Regions from separate parts of the Homo sapiens genome. Here all the other regions are linked to region 2. The links are contacts of gene promoters, found by promoter capture Hi-C in blood cells and fetal thymus (Javierre and others, 2016). All regions are on one chromosome and are shown on one strand. Each heading gives the region's core, a stretch centred on a gene start or on the middle of the fragment in contact. The rest is flanking DNA. Distances are from core to core; before and after follow the strand shown.

Evidence for each region. Contacts are between HindIII fragments. The CHiCAGO score rates a contact against its expected background, and 5 or more counts as called.
Region 1: a fragment that was not itself captured here is called in contact with the fragment with the promoter of FABP4 in region 2 in 2 of 17 cell types (M0 macrophages and M2 macrophages); the score reaches 6.7 in M0 macrophages.
Region 3: a contact is called between a fragment that was not itself captured here and the fragment with the promoter of FABP4 in region 2, in 3 of 17 cell types (M2 macrophages, M0 macrophages and M1 macrophages). The highest score is 10.6, in M2 macrophages.
Region 4: a fragment that was not itself captured here is called in contact with the fragment with the promoter of FABP4 in region 2 in 2 of 17 cell types (M0 macrophages and M1 macrophages); the score reaches 6.0 in M0 macrophages.

The regions. Positions count from the first base shown.
Region 1 is chr8:81,269,756-81,274,950 of GRCh38, forward strand. No RefSeq gene overlaps it. Among named protein-coding and RNA genes, the nearest start is that of FABP5, 8.2 kb to the right of the region's middle. The HindIII fragment of the contact is 1,948 bases long and covers 947-2,894 here.
Region 2 is chr8:81,481,019-81,486,088 of GRCh38, forward strand. FABP4 (fatty acid binding protein 4) reads right to left here and starts at 2,215. Exons shown (of 4, transcript NM_001442.3): 1 at 2,077-2,215. The coding sequence starts at 2,149. All of the region lies in intron 1 of LOC101927118 (a long non-coding RNA gene), which reads left to right. The HindIII fragment of the contact is 8,539 bases long and covers 1-4,951 here.
Region 3 is chr8:81,285,519-81,290,596 of GRCh38, forward strand. No RefSeq gene overlaps it. Among named protein-coding and RNA genes, the nearest start is that of LNMICC, 6.6 kb to the left of the region's middle. RefSeq lists an enhancer at 2,666-2,715. The HindIII fragment of the contact is 5,269 bases long and covers 1-4,979 here.
Region 4 is chr8:81,309,724-81,314,447 of GRCh38, forward strand. No RefSeq gene overlaps it. Among named protein-coding and RNA genes, the nearest start is that of LNMICC, 31 kb to the left of the region's middle. RefSeq lists an enhancer at 3,487-3,696. The HindIII fragment of the contact is 1,659 bases long and covers 675-2,333 here.

The DNA.
Region 1 (5,195 bases), core at 671-3,170, 210 kb before region 2:
TATTACTCAAAGCTCAGGGTGCAGATCTCAGAAGTAAACCAACTCAGTCCAATATTCTACCTGTCATTCGAAAGACCACCAGGATAGCTACATAGTAGAAAGGAGAGCATTATTGACAATATCAGTTTGCAAACCAGAGTCAGTGTCCGCTGTGGACCAAAGGTGCTCTCTCTTTGAAAAGGGAAAAAGCAGGTTGAATTTTATGCCTCACAGGGCCTGTATCATGCAATAGAGTCAGACATATATAGGTGCCTCAGAATACAGGCTCTGCCCCACAAAAATCTGGCCCTGGGTAAGTGTCCTCTGGCCCTGTGGTCAGGTTATATCTTGATTCCAATGGGTAACATGTACCTGGATGAAACATGAAGAAAAACATCTTAATGCACCTCCTCTCTTTTCTCTTTTTAATAGTCCCTCCCTTTAAACTCCAAGTCTCTTATGCTTCTGCAGGTTTGGGGAAAAGCTATCCATATCTCAGAGGAGTTAGGTGCATGAGCAATGGGTAAAAATGTATGGAACATATATCCCATGTTCACTTTGGGGCGGGATTTTAGCATTAAAATGGGGTGGACTTTGCTCTTTACATCAAAAGGTGAACTATAGGACACAAAGACAGTTTGTGCATCTCTATTAAACTGGCTGAAACTGGCTTGAGGCCTGCAGTCGCTTATCAGGAAAGAATGTAAGGTGTGTCCTCTGTTCAATTAAAGTTGTGGTGGTCTGGGATGTAAATCAGAGTTAAGAAGGTTCTGATAATTTGCCTGATTCCTCTTGTTGTTAAGGAGTTTAGCAAAGGTGTGGTTTTCCTTAAAGCTGTAGGAATTTAGGACAATACCATGCTAGCTGAGCCCTGAACCCTCAACCTGTAGGGAACTTGTTTCAACTTTAAGGTCTGGTTTAATTGATAAAGGGGCATCTACTTTGGCCTCCCAGGTCATATATACAAAGCTTTCTCTAAATACTGTACCTTTGGTCTGCATTCACTTTCCGAACCTCAATAGAACATGTCCAGAAGACCTTTATTAAGAGGTAAGTTTTCATGCATAGATGTCCTCCATGAACAACTGATATGTATGTTCTTCGAGGCCATTACTAGTTATGTACTATATTTCTTCATTCCCGCAGAACATTGTCTTGGTGATAGAATCAAATACTTTGGAGGCTGAAGATTATCATCAGCATTTTCCTAGAGTATTCTTCAGAGCATTCTAAGTGCTGCTAAAAGGATGGCAGCAAACAAGGCAGGTTTTGCAATCAATCCATTTGTAGAGATGTTGCTCTTAAAATGTTAAATGTATTTTTTAAGTTCAAGATTTCCTGGCATTGTTAGTATGCTCATACAAGCTGGAAATATCCAATGGGAATCATGGTATGCCCAATTTCCCTAATTTGTTTGATAATGGAGTCTGTATTCAAAAAACTCCTCACAGGAAATTTTAATTTCTTCTGTTCTTCTAAGGTTACAGATGAGAAAACAAAAATTTAAATTTAAACAGGTATTTTGTAGCAAAGTCTAGAACAAGGGTTTCCTATATCCTAGGTCACTGCTTTTACTTTTTATGTATTTAGAGCAGATATTTAATAAAATTATTGTTTTACAAATGATACTAATATTTATTTGCCTGACTATTTTAACGTTATGGCCTAGAATTATAATAGAGACAAAAGTTGCTATGTCCAATTTGATTCTTAAAAAATCTTTTAAGATTGTTTTCAATTCAAGTGAAGACAAAGGGGAATTGAGGACACAAAGATAATAGTTTTTTAAAAAATACTTTAAAAAAAGATATATACTTTTTAAGATTTTCTAAGAGACCAAAAAGGCTCTGCTACAGTTTAAATAGTGAGCAAATTATGCATGTTTGTGTAAGTATATGACATATTATTATGACATATGGTTTTCTTGAGGAACAAGGGGGGAGGCCAAGCAATGGCACAATTACTTGCAGTGTTACATTTCTCATGTCTATTTATAATCCATACTCTAGTATTGTTTGAACTATGAATTAATAACTATTATTTTCATAGGCCAAATACGAATTGAAAGAAATAATTTAATTTTTAGGTTAATCCCCTTATTTTTTCATTTTCATTTTTCTTCCCATAAAGTATTTTAAAGAATACTTAAATGATTATGGAATATATTTGGTGTTCTTGATAAACCTATAATTTGCAATTCTATTTTTGCTTACTCAGAAAATCTTTTGTCAAAGGAATCTTGATTGAGTTTTAGCTGAATTAGAAGACATCTAAAATTCCTTTAAACTCTAGGATTTTGATTCTCCTTTAGTCCTAAATCCAAGCCACTAATCTATTTTCAGAAATGAAACTATACAACTTTGAAGAATTTACCAATATGTCTGCTCAAGTGACAACTCATTGTTCTGAGATCACGTCTGACCAAGAATTACTGCCAAATACGCAATTAAAAACTGTATGTCTTGGGTGTGGGCAGCAAAGATCAAGTTCTACTTGTTCATGTGGATTAGTGACTTGGACTAGTTAGGTTCCCTCAGAGTACTGAGGCCCTAAGGCTTTGGGTGTGAAAGAACTAGAGCCTTGCCTTGGAAAACCAGAAGCAGCTGACACCTGCTTAGTAAAGCACGAAGCAAAAGGAAACCCAATACTTTTTTGTGTGTGCAGGATTTACCATCACTATTCACGTTGATTGGAAAATGACAAATAAATGTTTTGTTGAACTCTTATGTGATTTTTATTTTGTTTCTAGTTATGATTTGTATCACCACATGCTTTCAAATGGAATATTAGGCAGTTTTGATTTTCTGTTTCATATTGGGGTCAAACTTTTGTTTCTGTGACTATATCTCAGAGATGATTATGTCAACAAAATGCAAAAATGCAATAAAATGGAAAGGTATTTAATTTGAGAAAAAAGCTTTTTTTCCCATATAGTACATAACATAGAGTAACTTTCATATGCTAAATACATTCAAAGGGACACCAGTAAATGGCATTCTTTCCTGTTTATAGAAGCTGGTCCTATTCTGTCTTGACACTTATATGATGTCCTGATAACATAGCTGCAGAAGTGATAATATTTTACAACATGCAACAAATAAAACTTGTCATATAGAACCATAGTCTTCTCCCCAGGAACCACGTACAGTTTCTACTGAAAGACAAGGGCATCAGAGTATGTGTGGCAAGAAATCATTCAGCTTTGCTTCTGAGACTCTTCTCTCAATTCTCAGAAAAGGAACTCAGCAGGATTTTCTGACCCTTACTGAACTAGCCGGGTGGTGACAATTCCAGTTTTGACTTGTATTCTGGAAATTTTTATTATGCAAGTTGTATATCTCAGTATGCATCACCACCTCAGGCATAGCCTGGTGTCCGTTTACTACCCGGTTTATAGCGATGAACTAACTCTAAAGCACAGGCAGAGCTGAGTAGTGACATGAGTTGCTTCATGATTTCTAACCCAGTATTTCTCAGACAAGATCTTTCTAGCTGAGCAAAGTTTACCTCAGTTAACTTTTTGACATTTGGCACATTAATTTTAAACAAGATATATTTATTTGGTACACTCACCTGGTTTCTGTTAAAGACTCGCTTAATATTATAAAGATAAAACAATGGCCTTGACCAATGCCATGGAGTTTTCCCTCTATGTTTTCTCCTAGTAGTTTTATGTTTTCTCCTAGTAGTTTCATGTTTTACATTTAAGTATTTAATCCATTTTTAGATGATTTTTGTATATGGTAAGAGATAAGGGCCTAATTTCATTCTTCTACATGTTGATCTCCAGTTTTCTCAATACCATTTATTAAAGAGACTGTTCTTTCCTCATTGTGTGTTCTTGGCACCTTTGTAAAAAAAAAAAAAAAAAAATTAAGTTGACTGCAGATGTGGTTTTCCCTGGGCTATTCTATCCCATTGGTTGATGCGTTTCTTTTTGTGCCAGCACCATGCTTTTTCAATTACTATAGCTTTGTAGTACATTTTTGAAATCAGGTAGTGTGATGCCTCCAGCCTTTGCTATTTGTTTTTCTTGGCTAATTGGGGTCCTTTGTGGTTCTATATGAATTTTAGAATTGTTTTCTCCATTTCTGTGAAGAATGACCTTGGAATTTTGGTAGGAATTGCATTGAATCTACAGATCACTTTGGGTGGTATGGACATTTTCACAATATTAGTTCCTCCAGTGCAAGAATACAGGATATCTTTCCATTTATTTGTGCCATTTTAAATTTCTTTTATCAATGTTTTACAGTTTTCAGCATATAGATTTTTTATCTCCTTGGTTAAATTTACTCCTAAGTATTTTATTTTTATACCTACATCATAACATCACATTTTACCCCATAAATATATACAATTATTATTTGTCAATAAAAAAATTAAAAGAATAAAATAAAAACATGATTGTGTAAATGGAAAACAACAAATGTAGACTTTAAATTAACCAGTGATGATCTAAAAACCTTTCATTTATTTCTTAAATAAAATAATGTGGTTTCTTAAGAAAAAAGGCATAATGAATTATGGGGAACCTGAGGGCTTCTGTTTACCTGATATTTCAAAGACCTTCAATTTTTTAAAATTTTCAATATGTGATGAACTAAAACAGAATCAATTTTTAATAAATGTTTGTGAAATTTAAAAAACCCACAATGGATGTAGTTTTTAGCTTGTATAGACTTAGATACCAGACTTCTTGAAGATAAGAACTAGATTCTATCCACATAATTACTAGGTGTTCTAAAAATATGGGGTGATTTGAGACAAAGGAATGTGTCTGGTATGGACATCTCTGCTGGCCATTCTTTTGTGAGCAAGCAAAGCTGTCCCTGCATGACATATTTGTATGATACCTGAGTAGGGTAATACTGAACATGGCGCTACCACATTTTTTCCCTCCTGCAAGGCACCTTCAGGTCTTACAATAGATGATGCTGTAGTACCATGTTAATGCCTTCCTTGAAATTTAGACTTTGGAGCTACCTGATAGGTGAGAATTAAATATAACAACTCTTCATCCTATTTGAAATAGTTGGAAGGAAGGAGGGCATTGCTCAAAATCATACCAGGACAACAAGCATAGCTCTGACTTGCCCCAGTCAAACCAGGATATGGTCATCCTATCTTGCACTCTGAAAAAAATCGTGTGTTCAGATAACCTACCAGGGCAGAAAGGCCATTAGGAGCTCCATCTCTGCTCTGATGGTGAAACT
Region 2 (5,070 bases), core at 965-3,464:
GATACTCAATATTACATTTAAGAAGGCACAAAGACAGAATTTTCAACAGAATTTTGGGGGTTAATGTAGAGTTATTTAGTTAAAGGTTCGTCTGTTTTGAGTATACAAAAGTCACATTTCATAGCATTTGTTGCCAAGTCTACTTTTCTGTGCTTCTTTCTCAAATTACTCCACCATGAAATGAAGATTTTCATGAATTTCTACAAAAGGCAAAATGTTTCCTACATTTATAACATTTTAGAATGGTGATATCATTGCTAATAATTTATAGGGGATATTTAAAAGGGACTAGTCATCAAATTGTGAAAACTTTAACATTTAATAAATCACTATTTCTTAGTTTAAAATAGGTTAGAAGCCAATACTTTGATTTCCAGTCACCTAAGTTGTGAACTTTTCTTTCTTAAAAAGGGGAATATATTTTCTTGTGCAAGGTATGGAATGAATAATTTACAGCCTAACATAGCAGTAACTTGCTGACACTGTGTATGTCATGCAGAGTTTATGGCAGTCATAGATTTGCTGAATTTTTTAAACATGTGCATGTAAATCTAAGCTCTTTCTTTGACTAAAGGCAACCAAAGGTTAGAAATTGGGAAGAACTGGGAGAGATATATGGCGCAAAATAAGTAATGCTGAGGCTCCGATTTGGCTGTCTGTCTGAAAAATGGCCACAGGTGTGTCTTCATGTCCTGGCTCAGTTACAAAATATAACATTAAATGTATGAAGTGAGTCCACTTCGTGAATGCAGGCAAAACTGAGTGTGATTCTAGAATGACTGACCTTGGGAAAAACCAGTCTCCATTTGCTTGATTTTGCTTTTATTTGATGATGAAGACAATACCTGCCCACTCATCCTCAATTACAGCAGCTAATTTCATGCAGAAGGTGTTTTATTGACTTTAATTATAATCAGCCCTTTATAATTTAAAAACACAGTATTATTAGAAAATATAAATATTAAAAGTATAACATTTTTCTAAAAATAAATAGTTAAATGGCCCCAAATCCTGGCTTTTCTGCATCAGTGCATATTAATTAGTTTATTGAATCACTCTAGTTTATTCTAGAAAGTCTCTCTCATGCTGAAGTCACCAATTTCCCTATCATCTAAAAACAAGAAACATAGTTACAGACAAGCAAAAAAATATATACTGTATAATTTACAGGAGGGTTAAGTGTTTTGCGATTTAATGATTACATTCTAAACCCTAAGATTGCATAAAATTCCTCCCCAGTTTGCTAACCCCAGTTCTGACTTTATTGGACTGTCATGCATGGGGTTGAGGGAGAAAGGTTTTCAAAGTAGAAGCTGCCTGAGTGAGAAGTTGTCTTTTCTGATTTACCTCCATAGTTATCTGAGAGACATTCATCCAATGACATGCTGACAGTTAACAGCGTCTAAAAAATTAAAAACCTCTACTATCAAAGAAGAGGTATGTTATATGCGTAACATTCTCCTTTTAAATTGGTTGATAATTCTATGGCATACTATGTCATTTCTAGTCAAAGGAAGTATTTAAGCCATTTAAGAAACATATTTTCTGAAATTAAAATTTTTGTCTATCATAAAACAACCACATATTTTAATAGATTAACATTGAGACAAGAAAATAATTGGCTAACATACGGTTACTGAAAAAGAACCTTGCATTAAGGGAACTAGAGTGCTTTCAGTTTGAAATGAAAATTATTGCATACTAACTTTTTTCCAAGTTATTGCTTAATTTACATGCAAAAGGGGATGAAAGAGAAACAGGCAAAGAGCTAAGTAAACCAAGGATACCCAAGTTTTTCAAATAAAGTCAAATCTTATCATTTCTAAAGACAATAAACATTCCATTTAGACACCTTTTTATATTGGTACACCTTTAGGAAACATTAGTTGTAGCTTTGGTTCAGAATTTCTCTAGAAACAAATGATTATCACTTGCTATGTGTGCAGCCTCTCTATAGAAAGCAGCATTTTTCATTTCTGGCCAGGGCTTCCAGACATTGCTATAAACACAGCTGTAAACTCTTTTTCCCAAAAGAAAATATTATAAATCCAGTCATTCCACAACGCATTTCCTTACCTACTTCTTTCATATAATCATCAAAGTTTTCACTGGAGACAAGTTTCCAGGTACCTACAAAAGCATCACACATTTTGTGAGTTTTCTAGGATTATTCTTCAAGGTGAGAAGGAAGCTGCAGTTTTCAGGAGGGTGCTGTGACCCTCTTGAGTCCAGATAACTTCCTTTTAAAGATGCTCAGAACATGTGATCTTAGGAATGACCAATTGGGAATGAGATCCAATCATTTCCTTCATTACCGGCCTCTGCATTTTTTTCTCTGAGTCATGTTTTTAATAGAAATTTCTCAACTTTGGTTCTCCCTGGCAAATAGTCACTGGACTTAGAGTACAAATTATTTTTAAACCACTAACAGGATATTTTAAACATTCCTGTTTTGACAGCTTAATGCTCAGTGCACTGAATTTCCCCCTATTATTCCTATACATATTTATCCCAGTGTAGAGAGGGGAAATTATTTTGAGATAAACTTCGACCTTATTTTGTGTGTGTGTGTGGGGTGTTATTTAAATTGCAGTTATGTGGTTCTTTTGAATTGAGGAACATAAGAACTGCCTCGGAGATTCTTACATAATTGCAAAGGCTCTTCGGGACACTCCTGTCTCAGGAATTACCTGGCGATTAAAACAAAATAAATAATGGGATTTAAAAGTACTCCAGATTTCTGATTTCAAATGTTTTATATGAATAAAAAAGTACATTCAATTCATCCACCAGTAATCTGGACTGTAGATTTAATCGAAATGATAATTTAACCTCACTCTTTCCATCTCCTAAATGAGAGCATAGCATTGATTTCCACAGATCCTTTGAAAAATAGGCCTTATTCTAAAATACTTTCCTCATATTGAGAAACTGCATTCAATTTCTGAACTGTATTATAAGTTCTGAATTTATTCAGATCAGAAATGGTGTGTGGTCACAAGCTACCAAAACCAATATCCTTCTTTTATACAGTGACCAATCTGTGAAACTAGTTTTCTAAAGTAATCGTGGTTTTCAATTCCCTTTGCCTCATGCAAGAATGACAGAAGTTGTTCACATGTGCTGCAAATTCCCACGAACATACCCAGATTTAGGGGAAAAAAAGAAACTAAAATATTTCAGAGTGATGCATCGCTACACTGTGTATCCCACTGAACAGTACCTGCTGAGCATGTGATTGATTCACAAGCCTGTGTAAGTGTCCTGAGGGCTTCCCAAAAATGTTTGTGGCAGGAAATTCTGTAAGCAACAGGATTTTCTGTAGGAAAGCAAGTTGCTATGAAAGCCTGATAAAGTTAGGTTTTGCATTTGTTAATGGCACAGTAATAACGCTCATCTACTCTGGACTGTTGCATAGATACACAGACTGTGGTGATGTACCATCCAGGTAGGCTTGCTATTAGTGATCCACCTGTTTCCCATTGAATAAGACTGTTCAGATGGAAAGTAAATAAAAGTGACAAATCTTAATAGAGGGATGTTTTTGATAATGTTTTAAATTAATTTGCTTCCTACAGGTTTTTAAATGATTGAATTTGAATACATACTATGTGTATTCTAACACTGCAATTTGGTTTTTTAAAATTTTTGTTTCTATAGATTTCGGACTACATGTGCATTTTTGTTACATATGTATATTGAGTTGTAATAAAGTCTGGACTTTTAGTGTAATCATCACCCAAATAGTGTATATTGTACTCAATTGGTAATTTCTTTCTTTTTTTTTTTTTTTTTTGAGATGGAGTTTTGATTTTATTGTCCAGGCTGGAATGCAGTGGCGCGATCTTGGCTCACTGCAACCTCTGCCTCCCAGGTTCAAGCGATTCTCCTACCTCAGCCTCCCTAGTAGCGGGGATTACAGGTGCCCACCACATGCCTGGATAATTTTTTTTCTCATATTTTTAGTAGAGACAGGGTTTCGCCATGTTGGCCAGGCTGGTCTTGAACTCCTGACCTCAGGTGACCCACTCGCCTCAGTCTCCCAAAGTGCTGGGATTACAGGCGTGAGCCACTGTGCCCGGCCCTGATAGGTAATTTCTTATCCCTTGCCCCCTCCCACCTTCCCACCTTCCCACCTTTTGGAGTCTCCAATTGTCTATTATGCCACTCTGTACGTCTGTGTGTACACATTGTTTAGCTCCCACTTATAAGTGAGAATATGTGGTATTTGACTTTCTGTTTCTGATTTATTTCACTTAAGATAATGGTCTCCAGTTTCACCTATGTTGCTGCAAAAGAAATGATCTCATCCCTTTTTATGGCTGAGTGGTATTCCATGGTAAATATATATCACATTGTCTTCATCCAGTCATCCACTGATGGACACTTAGGTTGATTCCGTGACTTTTTTATTGTGAATAATTGTTTTAGAGATTGACTCTCTGGTAGTGTAATCTCCGGTCACATGTGGCTCTTAAAATGTGGCTAGTATGACTGAGAAATTGAATTTTTAATTTTACTTAATTTTAATTAAAATGAAAGAAATGATCCTCAATTCAGTTACTGAAAAACTTTTAAATATGTTTGAACCAATGTGGCTATGTCAATCTACTTTTTCAATTGTAAATTTTATGAAATCTAAATGTTGGACAAGTATTTCAAAAGAAAATTTAGAATCTGAATTGAGATGAACTGTTAGTATAAAATATATACCAGATTTTGAAGACAATATACAAATATATCCTATATTATTCATTTTCTTACATTGATTACATGTTGAAATGACAACATTTTCGATATGTTAGGTTAAATAGAATGTATTACGAAAATTAATTTAACCTATTTCTTTTTTACTTTCCTTATGTGGCTGCTAGAAAATTTTAGATTATATATGTGGCTTACATTATATTTCTCTTGGGCAGTGAAGTTTTAGAGTACCATGGTAACAGCAAGCTTCGCTTATTTATTCAACATGTGATCAGGCATTGTGCTAACCAATGCGGATTCAACAGTGAGCCAGCCAGGGCAGGCATTTGCTTGCTCTCAATGAGCTTATATTCTAATACTGGA
Region 3 (5,078 bases), core at 1,095-3,594, 200 kb before region 2:
CAGTGGAGGTTTTCAACTCGCTGATACTCTAGTCCTGTCCTGTCCAATACATAGCTATGAGTCACACATGGCTATTGAACCTTTGAAGTGTGACTAGTCTGAATTGAGACGTACATAGGGGATTTCAAAGGCTTAGTACAAAAAGTAAAATGCCTTATTAATGATTTTTTTGGTATTGATTGCATATTAAAGTAAATATATATTTGTAAAGTTAATTTTACCCATTTACTTTTTTAATGTTTCTAGGGAAAATGTAAAAATTGCATGTACTTTCATTTCAGTCATGCTTATTTCAGTCTCTATGCTGGGGTTCTTTCATCCACATTTTCCGCTTCTCATAATTATGTATATTTATTGACATTCTCTCTGAACCAAACATGATTATGAGAAGTGGAAAATGTGGATGAATGAAGAACCCTAGCATAGAGACTGAAATAAGCATGATTGAAATTCACATAGAAAGGAAGTCTAAATCAACACTGTCCAATAAAAAATACGACACAAAAATGAAAGTTAGCACGGGACCCATAATATAGTAAAGGCTTAATGTCCCACCAGCACTTCCCAATATAACTTTATGTGACATGGAAATGCTCTTTAATATCTGCACTGGCCACTAAGGTAGCCACTAGCCGTAAGTGAGTATTGAGCATTTGAAATGTGGTGAGTGCAACTGAGGAACTGAATTTTTAATTTAGTTTTTATTAACTAAAATGTAAATTTAAGTACCCACATGTAGTTAGTGACTGTTAATTTGGACAGCATGGGATGTTTCCAAAATTGAAATTCTTATGTTTTAAACTTTCAAACCGATTCCTCTTGCAGTATTCTCCCTCTCAATTCATGGGAATGTCATGTTTCCAGTGTTCAGGCTAAATGTCTAATCTTTGATTATTTCTTTACCATCTTATATCTAATCAATTAGCAAATTATTTGTTTTACCATCAGAATATACCTAGAATTCAATTGCTTGTCACTTCTTTCACAGATACCACCCTCATTCAGTCATCACCATCATCTCTCCCCTTCTCTGCCATTTTGCAACTTTATTCTCCCAAAGCTATCATTTTAAAACACAGGTTACAACATGTCACTCCTCTGTTGAGAACCCTCCACTGGCCTCTTACTTCCCTAGGAGTAGAAGCTAAGATCTTCATAGAGTTTCTATGTGATTTGCCTGTGTCTTCCACCTTCCCAGTGCCCCCTCCTGATTTCATTTCCTGCCACTGTCCTCTCAAACATTCCCTCAGACCTTGGCCAATGTTGATGCAAATGTGCTTTTGCCTCAGGGCCTTTGCACCTGTTTCCTCTGCCTGAAACACTCTTCCCCAAGGAGGCTGCAGCCCACACTTTCTCCACTCCTTAGAGTCTCTTCCCTAAAGGTCACCCTAACAGTGAGTCATTCCCAGACCACATGATGCATCAGAGCTGCCACTCCTCCCCCACATTCTCAATTCCCCTAAGCTGCTTTATTTTTTCTCATAGTCCTCACCTTTATCATCAATTCTAACTATACATTCACTTGTTTTATTTCTTAATTTTTTTGGTTATTATCTGTCTCCCCAATAGAAAGTAAGTCTTATGAAGAAGGGACTTTGTTTCTAACAGTGCACACACTCTCTAGTATGCAATTAGGGGAGAACCCGACATACAAAAGATGCTCCATACATATTTGTTAAATGAACGAATTTGTTAATAAATTAATGGATTCCTGACATCTATTTAACACATTTTTATATTATTTAAGACCCATCATGATATTGCTTCAATTGACTTTATTTATTAAAACCATATTTCTTACCTTTATGCAAACCATTCAACTTTAATCAGGTCTTTTACCCCAGAATAGTGCGCTTGATGACTGTGGGAAAAGTATGTTTGAAATAGGAAGTAAGGAATTCAGCCGTGCTTCCAAACTGGCATGTCATGGCACCCTGGCCTACCAAAAAATAGGCTACCCAGTTTTGATCGATGTATACAATTTATTTTACTGCAGCCAAGCACTCTGCTAACAGGCAATGCCTGTCAAGCAGAACTGGACCTGAGGTGTTTGTGGAACATGGTGAAGATTAATATGATTTGCTAGAAGAAAGACAGTTTAACACAAGTCAACCTCTCACTAAAGAAAAATATACAGGAGAAAGATGACAACTTTTGTATTATGTCCTTGAGCACCATGAGGGCATCAACTGTTCTCGACAAGTGAAGTCCAAGTGCCTGCGGATGAATGGTTGTAGTGAATTGCCACTGTAAGATCTTTGCAGGCAAAATGAGGCATTGTTTTATGCTAGTAGTGATTATGATGCATCTATTGCTAACATAGTCAATGATTTCTTGAGTCTCAATCTCTTTAACTGTTTTCTCAAAATTCTGGTATTTGAAATTGTGCTATGACCATGAAAAGGTTGAGAACCATCTTTTTGGCACCTAGATTTTGAGGCTGCCAAGTCAACTTGGACTATTACTCAATTCTTGCTGCTTATAAACCAATGATTCTTAATGTCTGTTCCATTTTGAATTCACTTTTAAGTTCATGAGAATAATTATAGTGTTTCCCTGGGTTTCATGAATTCTCTGTTCTCCTTTTCTAACACTGCCCTCTTAGAATTCACTGCCATTTGATGGGTCATGGGTGAAGTGAGTTGGTAGAAAGGGCTGATGAAGCCGGTGAACTGGTTTGGAAAGCTGACACATATTCTGAAATGCTGTGAAAGGCAAAGTGGTATGACTTGCAGCTAGTCACACAGCAACTGGAAAATAATTGTAGTCTTATGATATCTGGTGTGCCAGGCTCTGTCACCAGATCATATGTAAACATTTGCTTTTGATCCAGTCTCTCTCCTCCTCCCATTGCCTCCTCCCCTTATACCTCCTTCTCCCATACTGTACGCTTGGAAAATGTCTGAAAAGAGAATAATTCTTAAGGAGCGTTTTTTAAAGGTGCTGGCAACACATGGCATGGTGAACAAGATAGAGTAGGGTGAAGGTTCTTTCTGATGGAACTGACATTCTAGTGTGAGATGATGTGTCTTAGTCTGTCCTGTGCTGCTGTGACAGAATACTTGAGACTGGGTAATTTATAAAGAACAGAAATTTATCTGTTATATTTCTCGAGGCTGGGAAGTCGAAAATTGAGGGTCCTGAATCTGGTGAGGGCCTTCTTGATACGTCATCCCAAGACGGAAGGTGGCAGGATGAGAGAGAGTAAGAGAGCAAGAGGGGGCTGAAGTCACTTTCACAACAAGCCCACTCCTGCGATAACCACCCCACTCCAGAGATAACGACATTAATCCATTCATGAAGGCAGAGCCATTGTGACCTAATCAACACTTATTAGGTCCCACCTCCCATCGGTGTTGCATTAGGGATTACATTTCCAGCACATGAACTTTGGCGGACACAGTCAAACCATAGCATGATGGAACATACATGATTCAAACAAATGGCAGGGTGATAAGTGCAGCTAGAAAAATATAAAACCAAGTAGAGTGATAAGGAGCGAATGGGGTGGAATCTGTTAGGTTGGTGCAAAAGTAATTGCAGCTTTTTGTCATTACTTTGAAGTGCAAAAACTGCAATTATGTTTGCACCAACTTAATACTTTATATGGGACGGTCAGGGAAGGCCTCTTAGAGAAGGTAGTGTTTGAACTGAGACCTGAATAATGAGAGAAGGTAGGCAAGTGAACATCTGGAGCAACAGTGTTCTAGGCAGAGGGACTAGCCGCTGCAGAAGCCCTGAGGTGGAGACCGACAGAACCACAGAATGACAGAAGATTATTGAAAGAGGAGCAATGTGGAGCAAGATGCGGTCTGAGATTTAGGTGAGAAGCAGAGTGTGTAAGACCTTGTAGCTCCTAGTGAGGGATTTAGGTTTATCTAAGGACCCAGAGAAACTACAGAAGGTGTCAAGGAGGAAGTGAGAGATGACTATTTTAACAAAGATGTTCTATTTTCACTTTTGCAATGAGATACTGATATTTGGAATAACTTACCAAAGACACTGAAAATATTGGACAAAAAAAAATTTTTTAATTGCCTTAAAGTGACAAAGAGCTGACAAAATCATGAGGAATTATGTGGCCTATTTCTGGGAATCCAGAGAAGCAACCCCAACTGACAGGTGAGTTTTACCCTGGAATATTAATTGCAGGTCTGGGAGACATGGCTGAGAGGCTGAGCTGTGCTTTCGGCAACATAGGAAACAATTGGGCCTTTGTCTGATGGTAGCTAGGCTGACTCCATCCTCTACTGTCTTGGAGAAAGTTCTCTGAATGTTGAAAATTGGGTTATAAAGATGTTCATCCAAGTGCTTTTACATTAGCAGATGATTGGCAAGCATATAACTTTCTAGAAATAGAAGACTGGTTAAATAATCATAATATAGCCATACAATAAAATATTAACTGGAATTAAAACAACAAAAAGACAATAGCTTGGAAAAAAGACTCGTAATTCACTGTAAAGTGGAAAAACCGGATATAAAATATTATGTACATATTATACCATTTGTGTAATATGGGCACATATGTGTAATTAAATACAGAAGAATGTTAACAGTGCCTATCTCTTGGGTTTGAGGTGATGTTTAATTTTTATTTGCTTATCTCTCTATAACAAAAATGCAAAAACATTTAAATGCCAATAGCTTTGTTTGTATTTTTAATAATAAATTTATATTAGAAGATGTTTCAGAAAAGCATAAAGAAGTAAATAAATATCCTTGGAAGTCTCACTTCTATAGAAAATTAATACTAATATTTTGTTATGATGCATTCAAATAATTCTTCATATATTTATATGCATAAACATCCAAAACATTTTATACATGGAATCATATAACACAGTATTCTCTTGCAATTATTTGTCTTTTAAACCTGATTTAAATATAGATTCACATCCTTTTCTTTAACTTCATAACATTTAATTTTACTTCAACTCTATTATTTCTTTTATCAATTTCCTCTTGATAAATGTTTAAGCTTTGCAAAAAGTTTTGGAGTTATTAACAGTGGTTTGATAAACATTCTTTTCCATTGATGGAATATAATTATTTAAAATATTTTAAAAATATTTACC
Region 4 (4,724 bases), core at 254-2,753, 170 kb before region 2:
TACCAATCTTACTGAATGAAACTACTCCAAAAGATAGAAAAAGTGGGAATCCTCCCCTAAATCATTCTATGAAGCCAGTATCACTCCAATAGCAAAACCAGGAAAGGATATAACAAAAAAAGAAAACTACAGACCAATATCCCTAGTGAACATAGAGGCAAAAATCCTCAACAAAATACTAGTGAACTGAATCCAATAGCATATCAAAAAGATAATTCACCGTGATCAAGTGAGTTTCATACCAGGGATGCAGGGATGGTTTAACATACGCAAGGCAATAAATGTGATGCCTTAAATAAACAGAATTAAAAGCAAAAATCACATGATCATCTCCATAGATGCAGAAAAACATTCAACAAAATCCAGCATCCCTTTATAATTAAAACCCTCAGCAAAATCGGCATAGAAGGGACATACCTCAATGTAATAAAAAGCCAACTATGACAAACTTACAGTCAACATTATACTGAATGAGGAAAAGTTGAAAGCATTTCTCCTGAGAACTGGAACAAGACAAGGATGCCCACTTTCACCACTCTATTCAACATAGTACTGGAAGTCCTAGCCAGAGCAATCAGACAAGAAAAAGCAATGAAGGGCATTCAAATTGGTAAAGAGGAAGTCAAACTTTCACTGTTTGCTGATGATATGATCGTAAACTTAGAAAACCCTAAAGCTTCATTCAAAAAGCTCCTAAAACAGGTAAATGAATTCAGCAAAGTTTCAGGATACAAAATCAATGTACACAAATCAGTACCTCTGCTATACACCAACAGTGACCAAGCTGCAAATCAAATAAGAACTCAACCCCCTTCACAATAGTTGCAAAATGATAAAATAAAATACTTAGGAATATACCTAACCAAGTAGGTGAAAGACCTCTACAAGGAAAACTACAAACACTGCTGAAAGCATAGATGACACAAACAAATGAAAACACACCCCATGGTCATGGATGGGTGGAACCAATATTGTGAAAATGACCATATTGCCAAAAGCAATCTACAAATTCAATGCAATTCCCATCAAAATACCACCACCATTCTTCACAGAACCAGAAAAATAAAATCCTAAAATCCATATGGAATCAAAAAGAGCCTGCATAGCCAAAGCAAGACTATGCAAAAACCTATGTCTTTATTATGAATTACCTCTTTTTTAAAGTTAACTATAACATATTTTTATTACTGCAATGAAAAGGAGACTTAACAGTTACACAACCATCTAAAATACTTCTCATTTACCAATTGCCAATTATGTTCCAAATGGTGGCTTTCCACTTTATCAGCTGATCTATTCCAGGTGCTCTCAAAAACTTATAAATCCCTGAAGGACAATTTCTGAACAGCAACTAGAAGTGAACAAAATAGCAAGAAACACTATACTCATAAAGTACTTTCCTATCACATTTTTCCCTCATCCTGGAAAAACGTTTTTTCTCCCATTGCTGATCTAAGCATCTCTTTATAATGCATGCCATCTACCTTTTTGGACTTATTTTCAGCTGGCAGATAGAAGCAAACTATATCCATTAGATTTCTGCAGCTTCTTCATCATTGGTTTTATTCATATGACACAATTAATATGTGGTCACCCACTTGGCTCTTAGGAAAGTATGACCCTGGTTTAAGGCCAGAATTTTTTCAGGAAAGAGATAGGTAGATTCTGATAATTAGAGGCTTGCTGTTGAATACTTTCCAGCCCTGCAAACCAATACTTGTTGTTTATTGAAAATCTGAAACCTGAGATTATGGCAGTACCCCAAGAGACTGTCATTTTTTTTTTACTGTTGTGGGGAAATAAGACCTCCAGAACTTCTCTCTGTTAATCAGTTCAGGGTCTGGAAAATATACCCTTGGAATATATACACGCACATACACACACATATTTATTTATAAAATCAAAATATGTATCATAATATATCATTGGGATATATATCTATATATAATATAGATATATCATATGTGATATGTATGATAGAAGTTGTAGGCTCAGTCCACGCTTAACTTGGAACCTTATAATCTTATTTCAGAAAGCCCTAGGGTAAGTGGAAGAACATCATGACACATGTGGATACAACTTTGTGATGTAAACTAGATTAACAGGAGGTGTCAGTGGATTGGAGAAGTATATGCAGTGTATAGCGAATACAGAAGCAGGTCAGCTCCTGCTGCTTCAGCTGAAGTCCAGTACCCACGCCACTCACTTGCTGTTTAGCTCCAAGTTCTGAATCCCTGCCACCAACCTGCCATTTTGTCCCTGGTAATATAAGCAATCCAAAACCATGGTTTTGAACTTAGTTGCTGGTAATTTGGTTGGCTAGATTTCCTGAAAGCTTTCCAGGTTTTCACCTTCAATCACCTAAATATGCTGGATAAAAAAGAAAATAAGTCATTTTAAACCCACAGTTAAGCCAAGAAGAAAGTATGCGTCATCTTCAAAGTGCAAAAATGAAGCAGGGGCACCAATCCAGAGTTGAGCCTTTGCTGATACACGCTGCATGACTAGATTCTAGTCTTTCTTATAAACTAACCGTATCCCCTCCTTTGAGTAATGTGAGAGGACGTTCAGATATTCTATAGTTTTTGAATGAGCATCTATTACATACCAGGTGCTATTTTGTGTTATCGTATGTGTACCTGTCACAATAACCTTAGGGAACAAAGTCAGGGGCCCAGGCAGTTTGAACAGGTGGATTGCAGATCCCTGAATCAAATTCAGACACCACAAATAGCTGTTCCTCACTAGAATTGTGGATGGGAATAAAATATGTCCTGAAAATAGACTTTTTTTTTCTTGGTTTTGGATAAAGAAAAAAAATATCGTGGAACTGAAAGCAAGTCTTGCTGCACAAAAACATGTTATTCTTCCTGTTGATTTCTTGAAAAAGAGCCTAATTTTTATGTCACTGAGAAAATAGTTTAACACAGTGGCTGGAGTTTTAGCTGATGGATCACAGATTTCCTGGGGGTAGGAGTAGGAGTTCACACCCCAGATACCTTTATCTACATCACTTCCTCCCCGGCATAATATAAGTAAGATAATGCCTGGGAAATCCTTCAGGGACCCAGGCTGTCCAAAATTTCATAGGTAATTGCAAATTTTGAATCTCTCAATGAAAACTGCTGTTTAATATTTAAGTATAAAATATTTGAATGTTTGTATTTAAATCAGAAATAGAAAATGAGGTATTGCATTAGACTGCTAGCAGACTAAGTTCCTGACAAGCCTGGAGGTAGCATACTGTCCACCCATACATTTGGAGCCCTGGGCAGTGGGGAAATGTTTCTGGGTTGCACAAGTCCCACTTGGACCCCTGTGATCTGCTTCCTGGGCTGCTTCCCAGTACGTGCCTCAACAGAAAGGCTGTCAGTGTGTTACAACCACTATTGGTTCTTGTTCCTCTTTTGACAGGTGTGAGAATGTCTCTATCCCCTCCAGAGCCCTACGGAGTCTTAGCTTTTTCTGCTCCTATAACAGAATACCACAGACTGGGTGGTGTTTTATAAATAAAAGAGATTTGTTTGGTTCATGGTTCTGGAGGTTGGAAAGTCAAAGGTTGAGGGGCCACATATGCTGAGTGCCTTCTTGCTGTGTTGTAACATGGCAGAAAGTATCACATGGTGATGACAGAGTGCATGAGAGGGTAAGAGCATGCAAGACAGAGAGAAAATGGGGCTGAACTTATCTTTTCATCAGAAGCCCATTCCCTTGATAACTAACCAACTCCCACAATCACGGCATTAATTTGTTTTGGAGGGCAGAGCCTTCATGACCTAATCACCTCTTAAAGATCCCACCTACTAACACCATCACAATAGCAATGAAATTTGAACATGAGTTTTGGAGGGGCATTCAAACCCTAGCACACGGCTTCTGAGACCCATCTAGGACTTTTGAATAAAGGGGAAGTTGTCAGGATTATTTTACAAAGGAAGAAAAAAATGTAAATGTTGATTTACATTTTGCTTGGTTCTAAATGAGTCCAGTAGTCTTTTCTGGGACTTTTAGGTCAGTGATGTTTAATACTTTATTTTATAATAAAATGAAGGAATTATCTGGAAGAATAGCAGGGAAAAGACAGAAGAAATGGCGGGGGGCGGGGGTCGAGTGGCAAAGCATCTGCTGCAGTACAAGAAATGGACTTGACATATCTGGGACCTAAGAAAGTGTCTTGACTTCCTTGGCACCTCACTCAGGCTTGCTCTTCCAGAACTTCTCTCTCCTCACCGGGTCAGAGTCTGGAAAAAGTTCTTTGTCTTCATTTGTCCCTCACATGAGTGATTCTCACTGAATTTTCCTTAATCCGAGAAAAAATGGAAATTCTTCTAAGAACTGGAATAAGGACTCTTCATGGGAGAATGGCACTGACACACAGATTTTTAAAAAATAGAAAACTATGAAGTCAGTGTTTTTCAGTCTTCTTTTCATCTCTCCATATTTTGTACCCCACAAGAGCCATGTTAGACATTTTCTTCCATGTCACTCCTTCCCCATTAGATGCTTTAATACCACAAGTATTCTGTACATCTGTTTAAGTTCAATGGCCCAATAAACCATTGTAATATCTACATTTTTGATCACCCCCTTAGACATAATTTTTCCCATGAAGGCATATTGCCCCACCGAGACTGCATGAGTTAAGTGAATATCTCCGCTTTCAATACGTTGTTATTAACGTGGAATAGTAAAGAGAACACTCAATTTATAATCACTCAATTGAT